5 separate regions of the Homo sapiens genome follow, and all the other regions are linked to region 1. Evidence: promoter capture Hi-C in 16 types of primary human blood cells and fetal thymus (Javierre and others, 2016). All regions are on one chromosome and are shown on one strand. Each heading gives the region's core, a stretch centred on a gene start or on the middle of the fragment in contact. The rest is flanking DNA. Distances are from core to core; before and after follow the strand shown.

The links. The method cuts DNA at HindIII sites, captures the fragments that hold promoters and counts their contacts. A CHiCAGO score of 5 or more calls a contact.
Region 2: a contact is called between a fragment that was not itself captured here and the fragment with the promoter of ERI3 in region 1, in 5 of 17 cell types (neutrophils, M0 macrophages, megakaryocytes and 2 more). The highest score is 7.3, in neutrophils.
Region 3: a contact is called between a fragment that was not itself captured here and the fragment with the promoter of ERI3 in region 1, in 8 of 17 cell types (megakaryocytes, erythroblasts, monocytes and 5 more). The highest score is 8.1, in megakaryocytes.
Region 4: a fragment that was not itself captured here is called in contact with the fragment with the promoter of ERI3 in region 1 in 3 of 17 cell types (endothelial precursors, M1 macrophages and megakaryocytes); the score reaches 5.4 in endothelial precursors.
Region 5: a fragment that was not itself captured here is called in contact with the fragment with the promoter of ERI3 in region 1 in 6 of 17 cell types (megakaryocytes, monocytes, neutrophils and 3 more); the score reaches 9.7 in megakaryocytes.

The regions. Positions count from the first base shown.
Region 1 is chr1:44,353,842-44,356,541 of GRCh38, forward strand. ERI3 (ERI1 exoribonuclease family member 3) reads right to left here and starts at 1,416. Exons shown (of 9, transcript NM_024066.3): 1 at 1,051-1,416. The coding sequence starts at 1,185. RefSeq lists a silencer at 1,151-1,380 and enhancers at 1,250-1,750, 1,651-1,700. The HindIII fragment of the contact is 14,792 bases long and covers 1-2,700 here.
Region 2 is chr1:44,586,216-44,588,915 of GRCh38, forward strand. All of the region lies in intron 2 of RNF220 (ring finger protein 220), which reads left to right. Among named protein-coding and RNA genes, the nearest start is that of MIR5584, 42 kb to the left of the region's middle. The HindIII fragment of the contact is 5,716 bases long and covers 1-2,700 here.
Region 3 is chr1:44,569,448-44,572,147 of GRCh38, forward strand. All of the region lies in intron 2 of RNF220 (ring finger protein 220), which reads left to right. Among named protein-coding and RNA genes, the nearest start is that of MIR5584, 25 kb to the left of the region's middle. The HindIII fragment of the contact is 7,268 bases long and covers 1-2,700 here.
Region 4 is chr1:44,552,193-44,554,892 of GRCh38, forward strand. All of the region lies in intron 2 of RNF220 (ring finger protein 220), which reads left to right. Among named protein-coding and RNA genes, the nearest start is that of MIR5584, 8.0 kb to the left of the region's middle. The HindIII fragment of the contact is 947 bases long and covers 931-1,877 here.
Region 5 is chr1:44,607,600-44,610,299 of GRCh38, forward strand. The region is part of intron 2 of RNF220 (ring finger protein 220); the gene reads left to right. Among named protein-coding and RNA genes, the nearest start is that of SNORD145, 62 kb to the right of the region's middle. RefSeq lists enhancers at 1,926-2,487, 2,488-2,700. The HindIII fragment of the contact is 3,975 bases long and covers 1-2,700 here.

The sequences.
Region 1 (2,700 bases), core at 166-2,665:
AAAGGAAACCTTATCAATCACTTCCCGGCAGCTCCCTTCCCCCAACCCCCACCTCCTGAGGAAAAGGCAGCCAAGTGGGTTTCTAACCAGGATCACAGACACACATTAGTGGAGTCACACTCCAAGTCCCTGTTTATAAATTGGCTTTTAAATGGTAGGAGATTCAGGTATAATAAACTAAGCTCCAAGCAAGAACCCACTAAAACAAGGCATGCTGTATATGATAAAGTCAGAATAAAGCAGAATTTGATGAAGCCAATTTCTGGAAGAAACTCTACAATCAAAACTCATTTAGCCACTCACAACCTACTATAGTTTGAATAGCGTACACTCTTTTAGCCAATAGGATTCATGTTTTGCTGCCCTTCCGCTGGGAGACTGATTAAATGTCTGACAAGAGTAAATGCCATTGAAGTGGCCAGAGACCTCTCGCAGACACAACGATGGGCACTATTTGTTGCAAAATCCAGCTCTAAGGACAAAATCCAAACCCCCATTGAGGGGCCCCACATCCAGCATCTTCCAAGTCAACAAGGAGCAGTTATATTTTGCAAGAACTCGCAGTCAAGCCTCAATCCAAGTTCATGCTTTTTTTAAGAAAACACCTGTTGCTGGACCATTTGCAAGACAGGCAAACAGAAAGCTAGCCAGGTTAGGCCCTTATTCACTCCTTCCACCATCACTACTACCACCGCTTCAGATTTACAAAGAGGTAAACTGCTAACCTGGTGTGTGGGCATGTGTTGGCGAGAGGGTCAAGGGAATGTTCTACCCACAATCTCCATGCTCCATTTCTAGCCTCTCTAGTCAAACCTTTTTCTTCTCTAGTAATCCCAGTAAGTCAACCCCCTTAATAAACTCACCCATCCTGTCTTGCAAAGCTCTGCCCCGCTCCCCCTCCGCCAGAACATTACTCAGTAGATTAAGTAAGCATCCAGGGTAAGCACATGGGCCAGCACCCCAGGTTGCATAAATTCTGCGCACCGCGACCCTCACCCCGCATGCATTAACCAGGGCCCAATCTTGGCGGGGCCATTCAGCATCACCCACCCCGGGGTGTTGCCCCCAACTCGGGCCCATCCAAGTCCAGGGGAGAGTAAGGGGAGGGGCGGGGGGCCAGGAGACCAGCCCTCCTTCCCAGGGCCGCCCCCGCCCCCCGTCAGCAGCGGGAGAGGCTGTCGCCATGGCAACGCCCCCTCCTCGGGGCCAGCGCGGCAGGCTCCCTCCAGGTGCAGGCCCCGACGTCTCCCTCGGCCTCAGCAAGCGCTCAGGGCAGTTGGCGGCGGCGGGCGCGGCCCGCGCCGACTGCGGCGCCGGCCAGGCAGAGGCAGGGCCAGCTCCGCCCGCTCCCCACCGCCCGTTCCCGGCCGCCTGAACAGCGGCAGCCAGCACCACGAGTCCACAACACACCGACTCACCTCCGCGCACTCTGACCCCGACCGACGCGGCGGACGGGCGGGCGCTGTGGCCAACCGCTGAGCCCGCTGCCGACCCCTTTGACCAATGGGCTGCAGTCAGGCGGGGCTTCTTCTCCCCAAACGCTCGCTCTCCCGCCGACATGCGCGCTAAGGTATGTCAAGATGGTGACTCCCGGCCGCCGGCCTTATGGGACTTGTAGTTTTGACGTTGCACAAACTCAGAAGAGAAGACGGGGACGGGGACATCACTTCTGATCTGTGAAAGGAATTTTTTTAAAATGAAACTTTCTATGGCCTACAGCGATCTAACCAGGATCACAGACACACATTAGTGGAGCCCCCCATCTCCGTTTTCCCGCCCTCCAATATACCCGTAAGGTGAATGTGGGCTCACAACGTGACAGAATTCTATTTACATGACTCCTCATGATTCGTTCATTCAACAAGTAATTATTGTCATCTACTTTCGGATGTGGGCCTGGGGGAGACCTGAGACAAGGAGGGATTAAGCTAAGAGGAAAATGCTTAGATTTGTGAAGGGCCGTCCTAAGGAAGAGGGAACTGGCTTGTTCAGGTCCACTCAGAGGAAACTTCTGTTTAAAAGGTTTCTGGCCTCAGCTGTGAGGAGCTTCCCCAGTCAGTCTCTCCAGTAAGCTGGAGAGACCTGTGTTTCTTCATCCTGGTTATGCCTTTCTGGGTAGTCATGGGTCCCAGGTTATGAGCTGGGAATGATGGCTTTGACAGCTTCCCAATCGGTCAGGACCCCATCCTCTGGGCCCAGCTTCAGTTACCAAGCCCCTCTGTGTGCTGTCTGCATACTTACACTTAGGATGATGTCATTTCTGGGCCCTACCACCTCTGAGAGCGGACCTTACCATAACGGTTTCCACCTGAGCTGAGAGTGCCTGGTAATCCCCATATCAGGGAATGCCTTCCTTAATCCCACCCACGTCATAGGTTAGGTGATTCTGCTGTGGACCTATAGCATTTATCATATTGTCTTATAATTGTCTGTTTCCTTGTTGTCGCTCCCACAGGGTTTTAAGTCCTTTAGGAAAAGCATTTTTTCCATATTGTTCATGTTGTATCAGTAATACACCGCATAGGGCAGGTATAAAGAAGGCCCGCAATAAATGTCTGCGAACAAATGAGGGAATATCCAGCAGCAGGGACAGACTTATCCCGAGGTCAGTAAAGTGGAGGCACTATCCCCCAACTCTTGGAGCTGGAACAGATTCTCCTATTATTACCTACACATTAACCCCAGTTGGTCAGTCAGTCC
Region 2 (2,700 bases), core at 40-2,539, 230 kb after region 1:
AATGGAGAGTCCAAATGGACATGTCCTTTGGGCAGTTGACAATTCGGTGTGGGCATTCAGGAGAGACATCAAATTGGAGGCAGGTTTGGGAGTCCTGGAAAGTTGACGTTCAAGAGGGTAAAAAGATAAATTCTCTAAGAGCAAAGGGCACAGCAGTGACAAGGTCCCCGGATCAGGTCAGTGGAAGAGGCATGAGGGACAAGGTAAGGATAGAGGGTGGTGTGGAAAGGAGGACAGGAGCGCTGAGGAAGAGCCCCAGATGCCTGAGGAGGGGGTCACAGCTCCAGGGACCCAGGGAGCTGCTGCGGATGACACCAGGACAGCGATAAGAGCTCCATCCCAGACGGTGGGGAAGGAAATGAGGCGACAGGCACAGGTCCTTGTTCCAGGAGGCAGACTAGAAGACAGAAGAAAGGAAGGAGATAGAGGAAGCGGCAAGGTCCAGGGAAGGGTTGGCCCTTTTAGGAGACAGTTACACACAACGTAGAAGACAGAGGAGAAAGGACCGCTCTCGTGGCAAAAATGCAAGAGCGAGAGGAATATCGCAAGGGCAAGGTCCCTGCTGAGGATGGAGAGAAGTGGCTCTAAGGGACAGTAGGCACTGGTTTTGGAGAAAAGACAAAAGTTCTGAAAATTGAGGGAAGATGGAAAATCAAGTGGAGGCAATGGATATTAAGCTGAAGAGAGAAGTGGCTAACTCCTTTTACATGGGGTTCTCAGTAACCGCATCATAACAATGATAATTAAAAGTTTATATATGAAATATTGTCCCCCTCCAGTCTCTACCGGAGACACCTCAACTGCCCTTGGATGGGCAGTTGATCCCTTAACAACATGGGCAAATTCCCCCTAATTCCCAGTTCCTTCTGTTTTTTTTAAAGTTGGTGCAGTTTGAAATTCCACTATTGTATCTTCTTCTCTTCTTCTTCCTTTTTTTTTTTTTTTTTTTTGAGACGGAGTCTTGTTCTGTCACCCAAGCTAGAGTGCAGTGGCACAATCTCGGCTCACGGCAACCTCTGCCTCCCAGGTTCAAGTCATTCTCCTGCCTCAGCCTCCCTACTAGCTGGGATTACAGGCACCCGCCACCACGCCTGGCTAATTTTTATATTTTTAGTGAAGACAGGTTTCACCATGTTGGCCAGGCTGGTCTCAAACTCCTGACCTCAGGTGATCTGCCCACCTCAGCCTCCCAAATTGCTGGGATTACAGGCATGAGCCACCACGCCCGGCCACTGTTGTATCTTCTTTAAGGCATTTTTCCCCTTCTCTTCATCACCTTGTGGCAAGGAGGGGGTGGAAAGAGATGGGGAACATTCCCGCCCCCTCTGTGCTGGCCTCGGCTCCTTTGACAGGGAAGAGGGAGGGGGTGGAATGGTCTCTCTTGCCCCGCAGGCTGCTGTAGTCTAGCTCTCTGGTGGTATTAGTTTCCCTGGCCAACAGACAGGCATCAGGGTTCTCTGTAGGGCTGGTTCTCTTCTAGGGCACATGTGTTCCGATAACTTAACCTGCTTGAGCCTTTGTTTCCTCTTCTGTAAAATGAGTAGCTCTGGCTTGGACCGGCCTTACAGGGGCAGTGTTAAGGATTAGACAAATGCTTGTAAAGCACCTTAGACACAGTGCTTGCTCCACAAATGAACTCCCATTACCAGATGCGTGCGTGAGATAGCTCCTGGCATGAATGTGCATTTGCGGCTATGTCCAGATGTGTGTGTGTACCTGTGTGTGCAAGGGAGAGTTATGTGTGGGCTGGGGATGGGGCACCCTTGTGAGTCAGCTATTGCCTGTGTCATTGCCTACAGCTGACCCCGAGGCCATAAATCCTGCCTCTGTACCCGCTAGAGTGAACACCTTATAGCCCAAGGTCAGGCCCATGAATCATAAGCGGCGCTGGCAGGAAGCAATCAGGCAGGGCTGGGTAGAGCTGGGCAAGAGAAGGTCCCAGTATTTGGACCACTTGAAGAGGAGCCCTGGGCATATCCTGCAATCCTGATCTCTGGGAGCCGGGCTGTTCTCAGCAGGACGGCAGCTCCCATGGAGGCTCGCTGGCAGGGAGCCCTTCTCTACTTGACCGCATCTCTCCTGCTGGGGCTGCCAAGCGGCAGACCTGCCCTGCCAAGACAGGCCTGTCCTGCATCCCGGGCACCAGCACGGCCAGTAGGCGAGCTGCTCTTCAGGCCTTTCCCTTGGAGGCTTCAGAGTCCTTAGCCCAGCACGCTCAGCCTGGTGGATGTGGAGTAGCCGCCCTCTAAGCCAGATGATTTTATTTCTTCTTTGCCTTTCCAATCTGTCTTGGGGAAAGTGGCCCCAATAAGGCAGTCCTTTCACTCTGAAACCTTTTTATGACTCCAACCATAATTAACTCGAGTAATAAAATTTTTCAAATCCAAATAGATATAATTAACATTTAATGCCCCTGGTTGGTGCTGGTAGCTGGGCCCATTAAGAGCACAGTATTGATTGAGAAGGTGAGCCAGCTGGGCCGACTGCTGGGCCAGGGGGCAGAGGTGGCTGGAGCTTAGGGCTGGCTATGAGCAGGGCCCCAGCACAGGTGTGAGGAGGGTGGCAGGTGACCAAACCCCAACCCTACCTGGGGTTCAGGTCATGACTACCGAGGCTGGGGTGGACTTCTTCCTGCCATCAGTTTCTAGTGGCTCTCCCACCTTCAGACTCTGCCATCTCAGGCCTCTCCTGCCATGAAGT
Region 3 (2,700 bases), core at 29-2,528, 220 kb after region 1:
ACTTCTTCATGAAATTATGGGCTGACGATGATAGTTTAATCTTTTAGACTTTATATAATATATTCACTTTACTAATTGAGCTATCCAAGGAGCAGTTAGAGATGTTCTTAAATGTGGAGACAGAGGAATCAGGGCCATGACTTTGCTGCCAGAGGCACCGCCTGTCAGGATGGGGCTGTGGGCAAAGCCTGCTGACTTAGGCACCAGCTCAGACCCCACCCTGGCAGAGCCAGGATCTCTACACTACCTGCTGAGAAGCCAGGGTCTGGTGGGAAGGGGTGTGGGGCTGCTGAGGGGGAACAAGGAGGAAGGGAGAAGGAAGGCCATGGGGAGCTGAGAAAAGGAGACAAAAGGGGCATTTCTTTCTAGACCACTCCTTCAATAGTCATTTGTTTAGACGCCCTCTACCCGCATCGTCCTGGGCCCCAGCAGGAGTTCATAGTCTGAAAGGGGTAGCAGGCCTATGATGGTGTTTGGTATTACACTTGGCAGTGGTTCTAGGTGCTGTGAGCTCCTAGAAGATCGGGCACCCTTGGGACCATCCTATGAAGGCCCCTAGAGACAGGTGCCAGAGAAGGCGCTGCCCCTAAAGGCCTTTGCAGCACAAAGGAAGGAGTTGCTGTTTTTCAGGTCCGAATGGAAGCGATGGGTATATATTTTGGGTAATGGGGAGGAGAGCTGAGCGAAGTTCAGACAGTCCAGTCCTTTGTCACTGCTGTAGTGCCTGTGCTTTTCCATCCCTCATCTCAGTGAACAGCAGCAAAGCTGAGAGGCAGATCTAGTGAGGGTGGAGGTCCTGTTCCTGACTCACCTTCCATGACGCCTTTACTGGGGCTTTTCTTACAAACCCCATCCAGCGCTGTCCCTTTCCCTTGTCCACTTTTCTATGACAGTATTCTGGGGGATCTTTGGTAACATTTCTTCTGAAAATTGCTTGTCTTCTTCCCTACTAGAATGTAGCTGTTTGTCCGTTCCATTTGGCGCTGAATGTCCACCACACAGGAGGCACGCCATGTGTTAAGGACTTATGTTGGACTAAGGAAAGTAAAGTACAGAGGGGTCGGATAATGTCCCCGAGACTATGTGGTTAGATCAGAACAGGCTAAAGCCGAAGTCTCCTCCTTTCTATTTCACCTCTGAGTCTTGGCACCTCTTTTTACTTTATTGATCCAATGTATCAGGAATGGGAAGGCATCCAGACTTCTCCCTCCTTCACGCTCATGTCGCGATGCAGGTCACTGTCATCTCACACTTGTGCTATTGCAATCTTCCTGCTTCCTTTCCGGCCCTCCCACGATCTATTCTTTGCACAGCAGCCAAAATAAGCCTTTAAAAGATAAATCAGGCCGAGTGTGGTGTCTCACACCTGTAATCCCAGCACTTTGGAAGGTCAAGGCGGGTAGGTCATTTGAGGCCAGGAGTTCGAGACCAGCCTGGTCAACATGGTAAAACCCTGTCTCTACTAAAAATACAAAAATTAGCTGGGCATGGTGGTGCGCACGTGTAATCCTAGCTACTCAGGAGGCTGAGGCAGGAGAATCGCTTGAACCCAGGAGGCAGAGGTTGCAGTGCACCAAGATCACACCACTGCATTACCACCTGGGTGACAGAGAGAGACTCCATCTGAAGAAAAAAAAAAAAGATAAATCAGATTATATTACTGCTCTGCTCCTAACTTTTCCAGACCTTCCTATCACACAGAATAAAATCCAGTGTCCTCTTCCCAACCTACAAGACCCTACAGTCTGGCCCCTCTTCCATCTGCTCTCTCTACCACGGCCACATTATCCCCATCGTTCCTTGAATACACTGAGTACCTTCCCCATCAGAGCCTTTGAACTTATTTCCTCTACCTGAAACACTCCTCCTTCGCAGATCCTCATGACTCTCTTCTTCATTTCACTCAGATATCTGCTCAAATGTCACTTCTTCAGAGAGGCCTTTCCTGGCCACCTGCTGTCACTCTCAGCATCTCCTTACCCTGCTCATTTTCCTTCATTTTGCGTGTGCCTACCTGACATGCCACTGTGTCTTTATTTGTTGGTTGCCTACTCCAGCAGTAGAAAGTAAGTTCTACATTCACTGTTAGATTTCTAGCTCCTGGAACATGGTAGGTGCTTAATAAATTTCTTGAATAAATGAATGAATGTTTGCTCTGCTTTTGTCTGCACATGTTCTATCAGGGTGATCTCATGATCTTCCATGTAAATGCTACACCATATGCCAGCAGCTTCTAAATCTTAACTTCAATCCAAATCAATCTCCTGAGCTTCCAACTCACTTTCCAGCCACCTACAGGACATCTCCCCATGTGTCGTATGTCTAACACACATATGTCCAAAATGGAACATACCATTTTTCTCCCTTCTTTAGCTCCCATTTCATTAAATGGCACCACAATCTTAAATGCCCATCCAGAAACCTGAGATTATTACCCCTCTTCCTTTCTCAGACCTCCATCTAATCAATCCCTAAATTCCGTTCATCCTACCCTTAAATAGCTCTCAGATCAGTCCACTTCCCTCCATTTCCAAGGCTCCTAGCCTAGTCCAGGCCACATTGCCATCTCTCACCCCAGTGACTGGGACAGCCTCCAGCTGGTCTCCCTGCCTCCGGTCCTTCCTCTACAGGATGTTTTATGGTTAATCTAAAACATAAATCCTGGAGTCAGAGATAATATCCAGGCTTCTAGTTGAGGAA
Region 4 (2,700 bases), core at 154-2,653, 200 kb after region 1:
TAGGCTGTCTCAGATGTGTCCATCATGAATGAAAATGAAACTCCTGCTGGGTGTGGCGGCTCGTGCCTGTAAGTCCAGCACTTTGGGAGGATTGCTTGAGCCTAGGAGTTCAAGACCAGCCTGGGCAACAGGAGTGAGACCCCACCTCTACAAAAAAAATAGAAAAAGCTAGCCAGATGTGGCAGCACATACAAGTCCCAGATACTTGGCAGGCTGAGGTAGGAGCCTCGGAGGTCAAGTCTGCAGTGAGCCATGATTGTGCCACTGCGCTCCAGCCTGGGCAACAGAGCAAGACCTTGTCTCAAAAAACAAACAGACAAACAACAACAACAACAAAAACCCATCAATGGCTCCCTGCTATTCTAAACTTCTTCTTTTTTTTTTTTTTTTTTTTTTGAGACAGAGTCTTGCTCTGTCACCCAGGCTGGAGTGCAGTTGCGCAATCTCGGCTCCCTGCAAGCTCCGCCTCCCGGGTTCACGCCATTCTCCTGCCTCAGCCTCCCGAGTAGCTGGGACTACGGGCACCCGCCACCACGCCCGGCTAATTTTTGTATATTTAGTGGAGACGGGGTTTCACCTTGTTAGCCAGGATGGCCTCGATCTCTTGACCTCGTGATCCGCCCGCCTTGGCCTCCCAAAGTGCTGGGATTACAGGCGTGAGCCACTGCGCCCGGCCTCTAAACTTCTTAATGCAGCCTAGAAGACCACATGTCATCTGATCTCTACCACTTTTCCAGCCTAATCTCTCACCACGCCCCGCCTTGAGCTACAAATTCCAGCCGTGCTGAGTTACTTTCCTTTTCCCAAGGCACTGTGTTCCAGCTCCTCTCTTTGCACATACTGTTCCCTTCTTCTTCTCCCTATCTCTTCCTCCCCCTGTCAACTCCAAGATTTCCTTCAGATCTTAGCTTAGACTCATTTCCTCTGGGAAGCTTTCTTCTGTCCACCCCACAAGAGTAGGATAGGTGCCACTTTTGTGTATTTCCACAGCACTCCTCATACCCACTCTTCTAATAAGGTTATCTTCTTGTAATTGCCTCCCTGCTTGTCGGTCTCTCCAACAAAATTGTGTTCTTAGTGACATCAGGATTATATTTTGTTTATTGCTTGTGGTATCCATGGTGACTAGCATAGTATCTTGAACATGATAAGTGCCCTACAAATATTTGCTGAGTATAAGAATGAATGAATGAATGAATGAATGAATGAATGAATGAATGCTTCATGGCATCCAGCTACCCAGTCCTGACATTCTCTGAGTCTCAGTTTCTCTCTCACTAAAAACGAGATGACTTCTTTTTCATTGTTGTACTCTCTGCAAACCTGTAGAAATGAACCCCTAGTGGCTATGAGAAGCTGCCTAGGCCAAGGGCGTGGGATTCAATTGCTGTTTGGTTTCTCTACACTCTGCCCATCAACAGGAGGAGGCACTTAGTATTGAAAGACTCATGGTAGACAAAGTAGGATAAGACTGATGAAAACTTTCTGGAATAAATATATGGTCCAGTTAGTGTCCCATCTCTGAGAATGCCTGCTATACTAGTCAGTGTTCTAGCAAGAAACAGAGGCCCACGAATGGGGTAACAAAGGAAAGTTTAAGGAAAGGACGATTTATAAAGAGAAGGTGAAGTACTTCAGAGCTAGCAACGACAGGGGAGCTGTTACTACCCCTGGGATTGAAGGAGCATATACCAGCACCCAGGAAGAACTGCGGCTATGACCACGGCTGCAGGAGGAGCTGTGACTTTCAGGAAAGGAATGCTAACCCTTGGCTGGCAGAGAAGGAGCCAGGGCAATACTCACCCCAACTGCTTCTCTCCTCTCGTTCTCTAATGTCCTCCATGTGTCAAACCCCATAGGAATCCTGAAGGCAAGCAAGCTTGGTTGTTGGGGCAGAAGACAGAAATCAGCTTTCAGGGCACAGAACAGAATGGAGAAGGGTGATGTGTGTATCTGCAGAAGCGAACAGATATCTCTCTGGCCCCTGCCCCCAGGAATGGAGGAAGGATGGAGATGAGGAGGGCTGGGTCTTCTTATCCACTCAGGCTTCACCCAGGACAGAGAGCAAGAGCCATTAAAGAGGCAAAGCCCAGAATTTGGGAGCTGGCAGCCTGGTAGGCATTGAGGAGGGACTTGGGCAAAAAAATTGAGGAATGCTTGCCACTGCTTAGGACATGTCCTTCTCGCCTACCCTTACTCCTTTGCTGTCTTACTCCCCTAGCCTAGAACTGGATCCCAAGCTGAGACAGAATAGGAATCCTGGCAGGAATTTCAAGATTGTGCTCTCTGATGTATTCATACTCAATAAAGCTCTCTGTCCTGGAGAAAAAAGCTCCAATGTCAGACCCAAGGACAGGAAACAGTTGGGCTGAAGGGGATCCCATTGATCTGGGACTTGGAATCAGCTGAGAAGAGAATGGAGGGTCAGGAAGATCTACCCTTTCCCTAGAAATCATCTGAAGCAAACCTGTGGGGCTTGGGAACCCAGTGCCCTGCATCAGAGCAGTTCCTTGCATGCAGCCAGGTGGGGAGCCAGTCTGAGTTCCAGCTGGAATTTCATAGCAAGCAGGTAGAAGGCAACGGCCCTCCCAGCTCACCTTCACCACCCACCTTTTCACTCGTTTTTTGGTCTCTTCCTTTTTATCTCCACTGCTTGGTTGTTCTAGTTCAGACCTGTCTTTGTCCCTCCTCTTAGATTTT
Region 5 (2,700 bases), core at 114-2,613, 250 kb after region 1:
GCCTCAGCCTCCCGAGTAGCTGGGACTACAGGCGCCCGCCACCACGCCCAGCTAATTTTTTTTGTATTTTTAGTAGAGACGGGGTTTCACTGTGTTAGCCAGGATGGTCTCGATCTCCTGACCTCGTGATCCGCCCGCCTCGGCCTCCCAAAGTGCTGGGATTACAGGCATAAGCCACCACGCCCGGCCAAATGTGCTGTTTTCTATCTAGAGCACCACTTCCCCCAATCACTGTTTGACTGGTTCCCACGCATCCTTCAGCCTTCGCTGAATGTCACTTCCTTCACCTTCCAGACCAGATGATATACTCCCCTAGTTCTGTGTACTTTTTTTTTTTTTTTTAAGACAGGGTCTCACTCTGTAGGCCAGGCTGGAGTGCAGTGGTGCGATCATAGCTCACTGCAGCCTCAAACTCCTGGGCTCAAGCGATCCTCCTGCCTCAGCCTCCCAAGTCGCTGGGACTACAGGCACATGCCACCACAGCTGGCTAATTTTTTAATTTTTTTGTAGAGATAGGGTCTAACTGTGTTGCCCAGGCTGGTCTCAAACTCCTGGCCTTAAGCAGTCCTCCCACCTCGGCCTCTCGAAGTGCTAGGATTACAGGTTTGAGCCACCACACCGGCCCCATGTACTTTTCTTTTCCTAAGACCACTCTGGGGACAATCGTTTCATGTTTCTATCCATTGTTAGGTCCTAAGCTCCCTGAGGGCAGAGAGTGCGCCTGTCTTCATTATTGTCTGGCATCTGTGCTATAGCGACCCCTAATGGGCATCCAGTAAACATCTGTGGAGTCATATTGAATCATTAGCTAGGTGAGTGGGTAGGTAGGTAGGTAGTTGGGTATTGTTCAGGTCTGGATTCAGACAGAACTGGATTTAAATCCCTGCTCTGAACTTTGTAGCTGTCACCACATTGTTCTGAGCCCCATTTTCCTCATCAGTGTGATAGAGACAGTAACACCTACCTCACAGAACTGCTGTAAGGATTAATGAGATAAAGTATGTGTAGTATTGACCTACAGCCAAATATATAATGATACTTGATAGACAGTTGTTGTTATTACAAATGGACAGATAATGGATAGATGATAGGTAGATGGACAGATGGATAAACCGACATATAAACCAATAACCAGATATATGGGTAATGATGGATAGGAAGAAGGAACTCCATGGGGGCCAGAGGAGCTAGGGCCAGGGCACCTACTGAGTGGTAAAAGATCTGGATCATAGAAGGGAAGAAGGCCAGATATAGGCAAGGCAGGGCAGGTGTCAGGATGGGGCAGATATAGGCACAAACAACAAACTTTGCTAGTGTGTTACTGGAGGCACTAATGACTCCTCACTTGTACACAGCCCTGATTTCACTGGATCTTCACAGAAGTCTTGGGAGTTAGATATCATTATCCCCATTTCACACAAGGAGAAATGAAGCTCAATAACGTTAAGTGATTTGCCCAAGGTCACACAGCTAGCAAGAGGCAGCTCTGTTGAATTCTGCTTGAAGTTCCTGTTTCTTGGTCACTAGGAAATGGAAGTCTTTCCATTGCAGGGGTTGGGGTAGGACACACGTGTGTACACATGAACACACACATATACCCACACACATACTCTTAAAAGTCCCAGCCTCCATGGCCATCTGTCATTACAGTCACCCTCACCCTCATTTCAACCCTCCTCATCCCTGTCAGACACCAGTCGATCAAGCCATGCCTTTTGTGGTCTGTAGAGAAAAAATAGAGATGGAATTTGTTGCTTGGACAAGCAGAGGCGAGAATGGAACTCTCATGCAAAAGAACTGGGACAAAACCAAACATGCCAAGCCAGAGAGGCAATCACACGGTGGGGAGCTGCAAGGCCAGACGTGGGTGAGTGGTCAAGGAGGGGAGGGCTTTCCCTTTGAACAAGACGCCCGACCTCTATATGTCCAATTCTGCACCAGGCTTCGCTGTGGAAGATGGCAGGGAAGGGGCAGGTTGTGCCGGCACTTGAGTTGCCTGTTCCCAATGGTCAACCATTCCCAACAGAGGGGGGCAGCAGAGGGCTGATCTAGGACCCCGGGTACCTGAGGCCTTGTTTCGAGGCGAGAGGGCTGGGCTGGCTGGAGCCTGGCCCAAGCTAGGAAGAGGGCTGCCTTGGCATGACCTCTTCTCTCCTCCTCGACAGGCCTGTCCTTCGCAGCTTACCATCAGTCACTCCCTGTTGGAGCCTCACTGTTGTCCAGCAGGAAAGGTATTCTAGCAGCTCAGCAAGGAAAAGGGACTCTCTGGAGGTCATACAACTTAGGGAGCCTCCAGGCTGGGACCTGATTCCCCTGACTCCCGGTCCCTGCCTCTGCAGAGTCGCCTCCCTGCTCTTGGAGCTGGAGTTGCCCTGTGTAAGGCTGAGGATGGGGTCAGAGCCCCTCCCCTCCCTGCCCTCCTCCTGCTTGCAGGGATACCTGTGGCAAGCAGAGAAGTGGAGGTGGCAGGCACTCCGCGACTGGGGCGGTGGGGAGGGAGGTGAGGTAATGAATGTGGACGGGAGGCGGAATGAGCGATCCATCTTTGCATGGGAGGGGAGGGGGCTGCGGGCGTTCCCCCCACGCACTCACACACTCAATCAGGCGCTGTCAGACCTCTGGCCGCCTGGCATTTTGGTGAAGAATCTCTCAGCTAAAAATTGTTGTCAGTCCCATTTCCTCGTTATCAGTGCAAGGGCT